Linked DNA regions of Homo sapiens: regions 1 and 3 are each linked to region 2. The links are contacts of gene promoters, found by promoter capture Hi-C in blood cells and fetal thymus (Javierre and others, 2016). All regions are on one chromosome and are shown on one strand. Each heading gives the region's core, a stretch centred on a gene start or on the middle of the fragment in contact. The rest is flanking DNA. Distances are from core to core; before and after follow the strand shown. Region 1 has its middle 24 kb from the start of MIR759. Region 2 holds the start of CNMD (chondromodulin). Region 3 overlaps SUGT1 (SGT1 assembly cochaperone of MIS12 kinetochore complex).

Region 1 (4,356 bases), core at 1,274-3,773, 47 kb after region 2:
ATGTTCTAAAATGCAGTGGCATGGAGACTTTTTAATCTGTAAAATCTTTTTTTTGGGTGAGGACTAAAAATTATAATTGCTATAAAGGATATACCACATGGTAGGTGCTTAATAAATAGTTTTTTAAGTTTGTTATTGTTGTTATTGCTGATGATGCAGAAAAAGAACTAGAGCCAAGTTGATAAACCCAGAGAGATTATCCCCCCAGAGAGTCACCAAGAAAATCATAAGATGCTGGCATTAATGCTATAGTGGGTGAGACCTCTACATGAGCTCTGTATTGGTTTTTTATTGCTGCTGTAACCAATCATCACAAATTTAGTGGCTTAAAACAACACAAAGTTTCATTTCATAGCTCTGTGGGTGAGAAGTTTAAGTAGAGTGTGTGGCCTTATTGAGCTCTCTGCTTCGAGGGTAAAATTAAGATGTCCAGGCTGGGTTCCTTTCTGGAATTTCCACGTCTGAACCCAGCTCTAGGCTCGTTCAGGTTGTTGGCTAAATCAAGTTCCTTGCAGTTGTGTGATGGGGTCCCTGGTTTCCTGCTGGCCTGTCAGAGGCTTATCCTTGTTCCTCAGTGCTACTTGAATTCCTTCTTGTATTTTCCATGTGGCCCTTCTCCAGCAGCAGGGCATCTTGTTCCTCTCATGCTCAGGATTTCTCCAACTTTTCCTTGTCCTGAATCTCCCTGACTCATGTGGGCCCACTGGATAAACCAGGCTAATTGCTGTATTTTATAGTCCATGAGCTGAATCACAGCTGCAAAGGCCCCTATTCATAGGTTCTGGGAATTAGGGCATGGACCTTTTTGTGGAGCAGGCGGGGGAGTACATTCTGCCTATGACGACCTCTGAAGGAAGAACAGGTTATAGGCCAGTTCTTGGGATAGGAAGACACATTCAGATGAAACCAGGAGCGTCTAGACTTTAGGGAATGTGAAAATGGGTAGATTTGTGTCAGTGAGGCTGTCTCTAATGGAGATCTGTTATTTTTGTCCACTCAACATTCCTTTCTTTGGGAGAGATAACCTTTCTTCATTCTTTGTGGGTTTTATGGGGCTGCCAAATACAGGATTCCATCTACTTGGTGCAGGGATAGACTCATGGCCTCAAATGGGCCAATTATATCACCATCACCTCTCCCAGGAATCCGCTCTTGAGTGGAGACACGCAGGCACTGGAGGTGATTGCAGTGGAATGATGGTATGTCAGCATCCTAGAGAGGGGGCCGTGAGTCCTGTTTTTGAGTTCATGGGAGCAGCCTTCACTTAGTTCTTTCTGGGACCTGGTTGTTCAGCTCTTCCTTAAACACTGGTACCCACTTAGAATTCTTCCCATAAATACCCTTTCTGGCTCAAGTTACCAGAGTTGGTTTCTGTTGCTCACACCAAGAATCCTAACTGATGCCTCTCCCTGCCATGGCCACCACCCTCATTACACAAAAGAGCATTTATTCAAGTCTCCTTGCTCACAGCCATGCTGGGAATGAATTACTGACATGGTTTTTGATCTCTGTAATGGAGCTTCTTACCTTGAGCCATGTCTTTTTAACACTTCCTTCATTAACCCTGATAGGGTTAGTCCTGAGCAGACTTACAGAAAGTAGTTAATAACATGTAATGCTTCAAAAATCAGGTTCCATTAAAAGCATCAGCCAGACAGGCAGAAATCACCACTACTTAGCCTTTTATTACACACTGTATGTGAATTACAAACGCACAATATAATGCTCATTCAAGACGATGGCCTGAATCATAAAATTTCAAGTATGAAATGTCCTCTGTTTATTTCAGCAGGAAAGCATGTAGTACGACCAGGCTCCTTGTTTATTTTTTATGATTCAGTGCTTTAAGGAGTAAGCCCAAATTACATGGCACTTTCACTCCTCCCGCGTGTCTCATCCCCTGACAAGGAAGGGATCAAAGAGGTGTTACAGTAGGGAGGAATTAAGATTCAGATTGCGAACAAGGCATCAACCATTGTATTTCTGGCATGATGAGCTGAAGGAGTATTCTGAGTGACTCACATTTATTCAAAGGAAGGTTGAAGCGGGTCACCACTCCTCTTGCCCTGGCTCTGACCATGATTCTTGAAGAAGGGAGTGTTTCAGGATCTGTTCTGATCACTTAAAAGGCAGGGACTCCAGATGGGCAAGAAAGTGGCCCTTGCGTGGTGCTCTTGGGAAAAGCTTTGATGTGAGGAGTACACTATTCATTTTGATCCTTTCTGAAGAGAGTTACAGCAAATTTAGTTCCACTCAACCTCTCACAAGGTCACACATCCAGTTGGTTCTCGGTAAAGATTAAGATGTAATGAGTCTGCCTGCTGAGGTATCCACCATAGACCCCCTCACTATGTCTCTTCATACCCCAGGAGCCCAATTTCTCTAAAGAAGAAATTTGCAGAAACAATTCGCTCCCTCAGCCTAATTTCCCTCTTAGGCAGGAGAACAATCTCTCAAAGACAATTCTGTCAAATAATAATAGTAATACAGGCACCACAACCACCTCCTGTTTTTATACCACACTGCCCTTCCAGGGGGACAGAATGCTTTGAAGATCCTCTCTCCTTCCAGAAGACAAGGAGCTATCGCTCCCTCTTGAACTCCCAGGAGGCTGGGTGGTGATCAGCCTGAAAGAATTTGTTCTTCACAAAATCACCCCTGTACCCTGTGATCTTCTCAGAGCTTGTAAATGGAGTTTTTGATGCCATAGTCTATGGAGGGTTTTTCTTCTTTCTTTTTTTCTTTTCTTCTCTCCCTCCTCCTCCCCCACTATTTTTCATTTCTTTTCTTTGTTCTTTCTTTTAGTCGGATTGAGCAGTTAGGATGATACTGCTTATAGTCATCTGCCAAGGAGGCTTCTTTTCAAGCTTAGAAGAAGTCAGTGGTGCTTTTCCGGTCCTTGGGCCTGTCAGTGGTCCTCTAGACTCACACAGGGTAATGGGCAGCCTCCATGGTGAGTCAGCTGCCGCCTTCCATGACTGGCTGTATTGTTTTCCTCTGCAGTGACTGGGCCAGCACTCCATCCCTTTAACACAAAGGCATTGTTATTGACTGGTTTTGAAGGAAAATTTATTTTCCTCCACCCTCCTAAACCACAACTTCAATGTCTCTTCCTCCTCCTCTTCATAATAGTCACAGTAGGATGTTCAATTATAGCTAAAAGCCCTAGATTTAAGTGACAGATTAAGAGGCTCGGCAGGTTGTTCCTCTAATGTTCATTTCAACTGTTGGTTTATTTTTTAACCTGCAGGCACTGGGTTTTAGGTAAGCCTTTTGACAAGGTGCTGTTTGCTGATGCATCCTGTGGTGGTCCGGCCCTCTCTGCAGGGCACTGGATGTGGTCTTTGGGCAAAGTCAGCTGCAGGAAGGGCACTGCCCACCACCATGGCACCTTTGATCCCTGGCCCCAGTGCCAGAGGCTCTGGCCACACAAAGTGACTGGAGGGCAGGAAGAAGCCCTCTGACACCCCCTCCTGTCCCAGCCTGGCACAGAGCCTGGCACACAGTGGGTGCTCCATACAGTCTGCAGGGTGAAAGAATGAAACGCTCTGAAGCCAAGAGGCTTAAGTGTCTGCATTTGCTTCAGATGGAGATAAGGGGAGAACTACAAATGCTGCCCACTTCTGAAATTACAAAGGAAAAAAATGCCTTTTTTTCATTTTGGCTTCATTATGCTTTAAAGGGCATATTTCTTGCTCTCAGTAACTCAGGCCCTCTTCCTCTCCTCCCCCAAGGACTCTTCCCAGGAGTCTTTGATCCCCCTGGGGCCTCACAGGAAATTGCTCTCGGCTGCTCACCTCTTCACCTGGGACCTCCTTATAAATTGAGGGCAGGACTTTCCAGGGAACTTTATACTTTAATAAGGATGCAAGATTTCTAGATTCTAAATGAAATTTCAGTGGTGGAATTCCAGATTCCCTTTACAGGTAAAAGAGAAGCCATCTGAGAGATTTCCCCTATAGTTTCTCAAAGCCAACTCGCACCTTCCTGTATGAGTGAGGCCGATACCTCAGACACCTAGGAGTTTCCTGGTTCACTACTGAGCAGAGACAATGAGGAATTCAGGAGCTGCTTTAGGTTGAGCTCAGCTCCTGTCTCACTTTAGGTGTTGAGCCGAAGGCACTGAACACCTCCTGCACCTTCCCAGATCTTTCATAGCCCCAGGGCCCTGTACTTCACTAGGACATTCAGGGCACTCTGGGCAACTTGTCCTGATGTCCAAAGCCCCATCAGGCGGGCGCCGTCCAGGTGCTGGAGCTGATCTGACTCTTGACTGACTAGGTTGGTGCTGTTAGGTGCTCCAGGCATGCCTGGAATTTCCCTTCACTGTATTTGGATTTTCTATGTGTCTTCTTC
Region 2 (4,725 bases), core at 1,124-3,623:
GACAACCAACCATCTTGCAGTAAAGTAAAATATATGAAAAAAGGGAGCTGTGCTTATTCAGTATGATTGTTTAATCTCTCTTTTTAGAAGCCTGTCAGTTAGTGATGTTTACCTTGAATAATTAAATGACAAATGGTATTCATTTTAAAATATATCATGTCCAGAATCTTTACCAAAAAAAAGCATAGCTATTGTTATCCCCCATTGACCTATACCATTGAGGCTTTGTTATTTAAAAGATAGCATTTACATTCTAAAACCACAGAATTTCCCAAAGAGATGACAATCTAAACCCTGCTATTAATGGAGATGTAGATATTGAAATCATTCTCTTATTCACATTTGCTGTTTCAAACATGAGCATCTGGCCCAGCTTCTATATTTAAAATACAAATACATTAAGGCACTTTTCAAATACCCACAAAATACAGTGCAATTCTGATCTTACAAATCGATGCTTGTAAATTTGATATAGTCTCTAAAACAGACTCGGTGCTAAATGGCATGCTTATCTACATTAGACATTTGAGTTAAAAATACAAATTATGCAGTGACTGCAGAAGACGTGATGTGTAAAATGGTTGAATTGCTTTCAGCACCATTTTCTGTAAGTACTGGAATTCGTTCATGCTTTGCATTTCATGGTAGGAGAGAGGAAAAAACAGCAATCACCAATCCTCTGAGGATAGTGATTATGAAAGAGCCCTTTGTGTGTGCCCTGGAGATGGAATTCTTTTCCATTAGTTGAAATAAGCTTATACCAGACCTGGCAGTGGTCATCAAGATAAAATGCCCCCTTTTACATAGGTGAACACTTTCAGAGTATTTAGAGAACACACTGGAGCTCTGCCCAGTCAACTTAGAAACAGTCTTTATACTCCTCGAGAGCCGTGGAGCTTTAAAATAAATAGTTGCATACAAAGAAAGTAGGACAGCAGTTAGTAAAACACCTACTATTAAACCACATGTGATGACTAGGCCAGAATTAATTGTTAAAGAGATTTTCCACCTTTAAGGAAGTTAGACGTTTTGTTTGTTTGTTTGTTTTTTGTTTTTGTTTTCCAGAGAGAGAAGGGAATGTTCATGGCTAGGTCACAAAAAAACCTTCTGAAAGGCAAAAATTCCTTCCCAATGGGTCTGAATATGGGTCTGAATATTCCTCCACTATCTTTGTCCTGGATTTTAAACCCACAGCCTTTCTTAGCAGGGACAGGCCTTAGAGATCGTCCAGTTCCATTTTTTCCCTTCAGGACGAGTACACTGAGGCCAAAAGGTGACGTGCCTTCCCCACGGTCGCGCCACTGCTTAGTGGGAGATGAGCCGAGAACGGCCTTTCTCGGACCGTCCACTACATTCTCCCCTACTCTACGCTTCAATCTTCTCCCGTGAAACCTTCACTTGCTTTTCTACAACGTTGACCTAAGGCGGAAAGCCGCGTGCCAGAGTGGGATGGGAGAGGGGAGCTCACGCTGGGCCCGAGGGGCCCGCCGGCAGCCGCGCGCCCCTCGCCGGCCCGCGCTCGGGCTCCCCCTAGGGGCACCATGGGCGACACGGGGGTCCCCGCGCGCCGCCCTCTGGACTTACGTGACTGTCGCTCCCCTTCCAGAAGTAGAAGGCCCCGATGGCCCCAAAGAGCAGCAGCACAGCTCCCGAAATGAGGACCACGGCTCCCACCTTGAGCAGCCGCGCGGGGCTGGAGGGCTTCACCGTCAGCGTAGCGTACGCCTGCGGGCCGGGGCGGGAGAGGGACCGTCGCGTTTGTGCCGCCAGCACCTGCGGCCCCCAGCGCACCCGGGCCCCACGCGGTAGCCCCCAGGGAGTGGGGAGTCGGGCGGGAAACAGCTCGCCCGGGCTCCTACGGGTGCCCCTTTCGCCGCGCTCCCTCCCGAGGGTCCTTTGCAGTCGGGCGTGGAAGTGGGATGAGCAAACCCCGCAGCACAGGGCCTTCGCCCCAGGACCTGCACCCTCTACCGGCCACGGGACGTCCCTCCGCACCCGCCTGTGGATGCCGTGACCCCTGCACACTCATACGCGTGGGGCGACATCCCACCCACACATTTGGGACCCAAATTTATCCCCCCGCCAACACACCCATTCGGTGGCACGCACCCCTGAGTCCGAACTGTGGAACCTGATACTCACACAACCCAGGCCCTGCGTGTGGAATCCCTGGCGGTACTCACCGGGGGGCTGCAGAATTCCACGTCATCAGGTCCCACCAGGGCAATGGGAACTTTGTCGGAGTTCTCTGTCATGTTTGCGGCGGGAGGAGTGAGGCACTTGGAGACTCCCTGGGCACCCTGGGATCTGTCCCGCTGCCCCGACGTGCAGGGCATTTCAACGCCGCGCGCACACACGGTGCACGGTCCCGCCTGGGCCAGCCCAGCGGTCCCCACCCCTTCCAGCGCCTCACCTCTCTCCTCCCTTCTCTCTCCCGCCGCGGGAAGCTCGTCCTGCACTCCCGGATGCCCCCTTTCCTCCTCACTCTATCCTGTCTACTGGCCCCCCAAACAGCATCCCGGTGACTCTGAATGTGTGGGGGTGGTTGCATCCCTCAGAGCGGGATGCTGAATCCTGGGACCCAAAGAAATACTCAAGTGCCAGAGCAATTAGCCATGCACCGGAGGATGTCTTAGAATGTCAGCGGGCTCTGCTGTGACAACTGGCTGGAGGCCATTTCCTGCAGGGTCTTTGTAGGTGTGTGTTGGGGTGGGGGTGGGGGGAAGATGGCTCATGGAAGGTGAAGGAGAAGACAACAGAGTGGTGCAGGTGGACAGGGGACACTGGCCTAAGAGTGTAAGGGTTAGGCCACCTTCTCACTGGCCTGGCATTGCTGGATGGCCCCTGGGACTGGAAAACAGAGCAGGGTCTTAGGGATGGCTCCTTGCCACCAGTTTTTCTAGGGTCTGGGTACAACTGCAGCAAAAGTGAGAGCTAAGCAGAGCAGGGCTGGAGGGAAGGAGTTGGGGAGACCAGAATAAAAGTGCATGCTGGTTGGTTGAATAAATTAAATAAGTGCAAACAAAAGCAACAATGGCAAAGCACACACACACACACACACACACACACAGAGTACTGATGTATCCAAAGGAATAACACAAATGTGTGTGTGTGTGTGTGTGTGTGTGTGTATGTATGTATGTATATAAAATTTTCACTTTTGGAAATGCCATCTTCCAGTTCCAGGATACATGGTACTTCATTTGGATCCAGGCTTCCTTAAATTGCGTTCGATTCTAGCTTTGTGCAGAGCTCTCTGGTGAGGTGTAAGTGAGGAGCACTAGTGCATGAGAGGGATTGAGGCTTCCCCAAAGGGCAGCGGGAGATTGCATGTGCAGGACTGCAGAAGGAGAAAGTGTTGAAGAATCATCCAAGACATGTGATGAAGAATGAGGTGACAAGCATGATGACCTGGGGCTGGGAAGGAGGGGAGAAGTGGAGGAGACCACTTTCACAGAAGAATCGATAGGACTTGGCAATTCCTGGGCTGTGGGAACTGAGTTTTCAGACCTAGGAGGATTGGGAGAGTGATAGGAACCCTAGGGAAGTGAAAAAATTGGAAGAAACAGTTTTAGACATGTTGAGCTTGATGTGGGGATGAAAAGTAAAAGAGCCAAGGAAATGTCCTGAGCCTGCATTGGAATCAGCTATGGAAACAGCTGTCTGCACATCACACTAGACTTAAGGTGCTTGGAAAAAACTCCAGCAAGATCTCCAGCCAGGGCTCATCCCTGGGGCACTGCTGAGGCAGAGTTCAAAGACCTCTTTTCACAAGGGCATTCTTCACAGGAATTTTGGTGAAGGAATAAGAGAAGTAACTGTCAGAGAGGTGGGAGATGGTACAATATAAAGTAGTACATGTAATTTTAAAGGCACATTCAAGAAGGGTGGGTCAGCAGTGTCAAATGCTGAAAAAAAATGAGCACAGAGAAAGGCCTTGGAAGGGCACAACCAAGAGGCCATGGGAACCAGCGAGAGAGTAGTTCCATTTGCTTCCCTGGGCACAGAAGACACATTGCAAAGGGTTACAGAGTGATTAAAAATATTTGCAACTTATACCACAGACAAGGAACTAGTTTTCTTATATAGTGTTTTCCTAGGAAAACCAAAAGACCAAAAATGTAGTAGAAAAAATGGCAAAGAATGGAAACAGAGAGTTGGTGAAGCAAGAAGTAGAAATTTCTCTTAAATGTAAGAAGAATGAACAACAGCATTATTTTGCCTTTTTTTTTTTTTTTTTTTTTTTTTTTTTGAGACAGAGTCTTGCTCTATCGCCCAGGCTGGAGTGCAGTGGTGCGATTTTGGCTCACTGCAACCTCCACCTCCCAGGTTCAAGTGGTTCTCCTGCCTCAGCCTCCCAAGTGGCTGGTATTACAGGCGCCAGCCACCATGCCTGACTAATTTTTCTATTTTTAATAGAGGCAGGGTTTCACCACGTTCGCCAGGCTGGTCTCGAACTCCTGACATCAAGTGATCCGCCCACCTTGACCTTCCAAAATGCTGGGATTACAGGCATGAGCCACCACGCCTGGCCACAACTGCATTCATACAAGGAAATGCAAATTAAAAGTAGACTGGTTCACCTATGAGACTGGAAAAACATAAAAACGCTTGTTAAAACAATCTGTTGAAAAATATGAGGGGCAGTGAATTTATGGACTACTGTAGTGGGTGAATTGGTACAACTTCTATGGAGAACAATTTAATTCCAAAATGCAAAATGCA
Region 3 (4,590 bases), core at 1,240-3,739, 45 kb before region 2:
GCATTATCTCATTTTTAATCGCCCTTCAATAGCATCCCATTATTGCAAATCAGAAAGATGATGGGGCCAAAGTAAAGTTCTTTGCCCAGGTCACTCTACTAGTAAGTAATTGCAATAGCTGGGATTTGAACCCAGGCCTATCAGACTCCATTACCCATACTTCTGACAACTGCAATCCTCTCATCAGGTTAATAAGCTAGATGTGGAATGAATGATTTTTATTACCAAATCAGCTGACTGGAAATGAAGCAGAGAATATTCAAGTTAAAGAACTAATTCTTTTTTTTTTTTTTTTTGAGACAGTCTCACTCTGTCGTTCAGGGAAGGAATGCAGTGGTGCAATCTTGGCTCACTGCAACCTCCACCTCCCAGGTTCAAGTAATTCTTCTGCCTCAGCCTCCTGAGTAGCTGGGATTACAGGCATGGGCCGCCATGCCCAGCTAATTTTTGTATTTTTAGTAGAGACGAGGTTTCACCATGTTGGTCAGGCTGGTCTTGAACTCCTGACCTCATGATCCGCCCACCTTGGCCTCCCAAAATGCTGGGATTATAGGCGTGAGCCACTGTGCCCAGCCAAGAACTAATTCTTATATAGGAGCTGGGAAGATAAATTCCTAGAGATCCTCACTTTCTTAAGTAGGAAAGCTTATTAGGAATCCAAATCTTTTGCCTCATACTGGAAGTAATGCAAAGAAGTAGTCTGATTTTTGAGAGGGTGCTGTTTTTCTCAAATCTAGATCATTACAGAGAAACAGTGTACTTTTAACAACTGTTGCATGTGTAAGAAGACTGGTACATGATGCCAATGAAATTCTTTTTTTCCTTTAACTTGGGAGCTCTCATACCAGTTCCGTTGTACAAATGCTGAGATTGTTTCAAGGTTTTATTCCTACAGACATGTTAGGATTTGTGTATCACTGATTTCTCCAATAAAATTTGAATATTTCAGGTTATTTCCTTTTTCCTAACTTATGTTAGCATTTTGTATATATATATATATTTGAATTTTGGCTTGTCTGGAGTCTTAAATATTTGGTATGCCTTCACATTTGGATTTTTAGTTTTATTTTTACATTGAGACTTCTACCTATATCATTGACTTTATTTTTTCCTATGATTAAAGGATTCAGTTATACAAAAAGATGTTTCAGAAACACTGCTATTTACCTAAAGGTAATTTTCAGTTTCTTTAGAAGGAGTTAGGAAAATGGTCCTTAATACCTATATAGGGTTTTTTAAAAAACTGTACCCTATAATGCAGCCACAGAAGATCTAAATAATAAACAATTGCGCATACTATTAATATATATTTAGAGCTTTTGTTAAGTACATGAAAAGACAGTATTGCATAGTGGTTAAATGCATGGACTCTGAAGCCATCCTGTTTGGGATCATCCTGGCTACATTGCTTACTAGCTGTGTGACAATGGATATAGGTGCTTAATGTCTCTGTGCCTCAGTTTTTGTGTCTATGTAAAGGAGATAATAGGATCCCCCTCATGCCTCATGGTCTTAGTTGAATGAATTCATGTAACTCCACAGGTATCTTAATCCAGAAGGCTCAAAATACTAATGTTTTGTGTGTGTGTGTGTGTGTGCATGTGCATCTGTATGACAAGTGATATAAAACGTGACCTGAATTTATAATATGAATAGTCACATTTTGCAGCAGAAATATTAAATGTTTAATTATAGAATGCTAGCACTGATCCTGCTGAAATTGTTACAAAATACAGCAGTTGCCCCTTAACTGTGGCAGATACATTCCAAGACCCCCAGTACTGAATGCTGTATGTACATTTTTTATACATGTATACTTATGATAAAGTTTATAAATTAGGCACAGTAAGATATTAATAATAGAATATACAATATACCGCAATAAAACTTATGTGAACAGTTATTTTTGGACAGCAGTTGACTGTGGGTCACTGAAATTGTGGAAAGCAAAACCATGGATAAAGGGGAACTATTAATAGTCTATCTGTATTGCATTATCTTCTAAAATCCAAAATTCTGACTTCAAAAACTCATCTGAGGGTTTTGGAATTGTGTATCTATGTGTGTGAAGTGCAAAGAGCAGTGCTTCATGTGACAGATAACATCAGATGATCCTAGGCTGGAAGGTGGAAATCCTAGAGAAGATTTTTTTGTGTTGTAAGTTCAGTCTTTCAAGATGTGGAATTCTGTCTGAGGAAAGTATATCACCTAGTTAACAATTGTTACTGTAATTTATAAAATTTGTACTTTGGAGAGCATAAGAATTCATGAAAAGTTTTTAATAATTTTACTTAAACAGAGCTTAATTATGTAAGTATTGTCAGCACTTTATAAAGAATCGTAAAATAAAATAGTGGCAGAAAATATAAACTAGATGTAGAATGTTAAGGAACTTTCGGAAGTTCTCTGGTTTTCATTTCAATTTCAAAGCTCAAAACAGAAGGTAAAACTATTAGGATTTGTGAAAAATACAAGGTACAAAATCACGCAGTTTATAAACCACAGATTGTCTTGTTATTCCCATCAGTGAAAAGAAGCTGATATTTGTTTGTGTTTGTTTTTGTTTTTGTTTTTGAGACGGAGTCTTGCTCTGTCGCCCAGGCTGGAGTGCAGTGGCGCCATTTTGGCTCACTGCAAGCTCCGCCTCCCGGTTCACGCCATTCTCATGCCTCAGCCTCCCAAGTAGCTGGGACTACAGGCGTCCGCCACCATGCCCGGCTAATTTTTTGTATTTTTAGTAGAGACAAGAGTTTCACCGTGTTAGCCAGGATGGTCTCATCTCCTGATCTTGTGACCCGCCCGCCTCGGCCTCCCAAAGTGCTGGGATTACAGGCGTGAGCCACCATGCCCAGCCTGCTGGTAGATGTTTTTATGAGTTAATTCATCAATCTTATTATTCTTGCCCCAAATGAATCAGTGTGGAGCATATACAAGTGTGTAGACATTAATATGGGCTCACTGTCAGCTGGGAGTTCTCACAACTACCACTTTTTACTGATTATCTGTTTTCTAAACTTTTTCTGTGGCTTGAAGTGACTGAAAGTGAACACATTCATAAGTAATGAGCTTAGGCTGAGGATATATATCCAGTGGGGGATGAAACATGCTTAAGAAATTGAGTGCATTTCCTTTATTATTGTTATTATTTTGCTATTTCAAAACAATTGACTTTAAAAAATTATACTTCACCACAGAGACAGGTGTTGTTTTGTAATGGAAGGAGTAGTAACTTATGAATCTAGACTCTTAAAATCCCAGTTCTGATACTTTCATAATTGTGTGTTTTGAGGGCAAGTGACTTATCTGAACTTTTTTCTTTTTTATAACACTGGATGATAATTAACCCTCAGGATTGTGAGGATTTAATAACTAAGTCCTGACTCAAATTATGTTACCAATAAATGCTACTTAAATGTAAAGTCCTTGATTTATTTTTTCCCCTCAGTCCTGTTTAGTGTTGAAATTCTTCAAAGGAGGGTGAGTCTGGCATTTACCTGCTATTCAAGAGTTTTCAGAATTCAACCCCAGCCAAAATTTTTGGCCACATCTCTTGTCACTGCTTTGCTGTGTACTAAAGCTCCCAGACACACAAGAATCTTCTAGTCATGGTCAAACTTTTTCTGCAAAGGGCACTTACAGTCTATTGCATATTCTTTGTTTTTAGTGTTCAGACATCTGCTGTTTCTGAATATGTCGTGTATTTTCATTCCTTTTTCTGCCCCTCCTGGGCATCTCCAGTTTCCTACTGATGTGTCAAAACTGAGTTTGTATGCTACCTCCAGGAAAGCAGTCTAATCTTTTGCAACTCTGTTACTGACTTTTGTGGCATTGGATTGGGTTATTTGCTTATGGTTGAGACATCACTGGATCCTTTGATGGAGTCATACCAAAACCACAACATGTCATGAGCATGCTTGAGAGTGCTAATCTATTCCTTGTTTGTCAGACCAGTACATTACAGTTGGTTCATTTCTTCCCCCGTGTGACTGAGTTTCTTGAGGGCGCGGTCTAGCTTCCATCTTTGTATGTGTAGCACCTGGTACATAGAGAACAGGCTCCCAGAATTGGATGGATTTGCTCATGGTCTTATCACTGCACAGAATGCCCTTATTTTCTTCCATTCATTCTATGAGATCTCAATTAAAATGTCAGTACTCTTGTGGAACTCCCCTCTCCATGCCCTCTACTGAAATGCATTGCCACTCTAGTTGTGATGTGGGAGTGCCTTGTTTATGCCTCTATTTATGACACCTTCATGGTGTCACATGTTATAGGGTTAGTTGCGGCTGTGTCTGTTTTACCTTGTGTGTCTTGGTCAGTTAGTGTTATTTACTTAAGCTTTGGATCTTTGATACATAGCGTAGTGCCTTTCACATAGTATGTACTCAAATATTGGAAGTTACTCATCCCAAACCATAGTGTTTAAAATTGGGGTTTTTTAAAAATGTCAAGCCCTTAAAGTTGATCATTTATTTGTCAATGTAAATAGAATAGTAATTTGTTTTCAAAAAGATGAGGTCTTGCTGTGGTGCTCAGGCTGGAGTGCAGTGGCTGTTCACAGGCGTGATAATTGTGTGTTACAGCCTCAAA

What was found. The method cuts DNA at HindIII sites, captures the fragments that hold promoters and counts their contacts. A CHiCAGO score of 5 or more calls a contact.
Region 1: a fragment that was not itself captured here is called in contact with the fragment with the promoter of CNMD in region 2 in 1 of 17 cell types (M2 macrophages); the score reaches 5.3 in M2 macrophages.
Region 3: a fragment that was not itself captured here is called in contact with the fragment with the promoter of CNMD in region 2 in 1 of 17 cell types (M2 macrophages); the score reaches 5.7 in M2 macrophages.

Annotation. Positions count from the first base shown.
Region 1 is chr13:52,783,985-52,788,340 of GRCh38, forward strand. No RefSeq gene overlaps it. Among named protein-coding and RNA genes, the nearest start is that of MIR759, 24 kb to the right of the region's middle. RefSeq lists enhancers at 2,893-3,409, 3,410-3,925. The HindIII fragment of the contact is 683 bases long and covers 2,183-2,865 here.
Region 2 is chr13:52,737,447-52,742,171 of GRCh38, forward strand. CNMD (chondromodulin) reads right to left here and starts at 2,374. Exons shown (of 7, transcript NM_007015.3): 1 at 2,184-2,374; 2 at 1,585-1,725. The coding sequence starts at 2,255. RefSeq lists an enhancer at 1-445. The HindIII fragment of the contact is 4,345 bases long and covers 753-4,725 here.
Region 3 is chr13:52,692,134-52,696,723 of GRCh38, forward strand. SUGT1 (SGT1 assembly cochaperone of MIS12 kinetochore complex) reads left to right here. Exons shown (of 13, transcript NM_006704.5): 13 at 1-4,590. Among named protein-coding and RNA genes, the nearest start is that of SUGT1, 42 kb to the left of the region's middle. The HindIII fragment of the contact is 3,693 bases long and covers 644-4,336 here.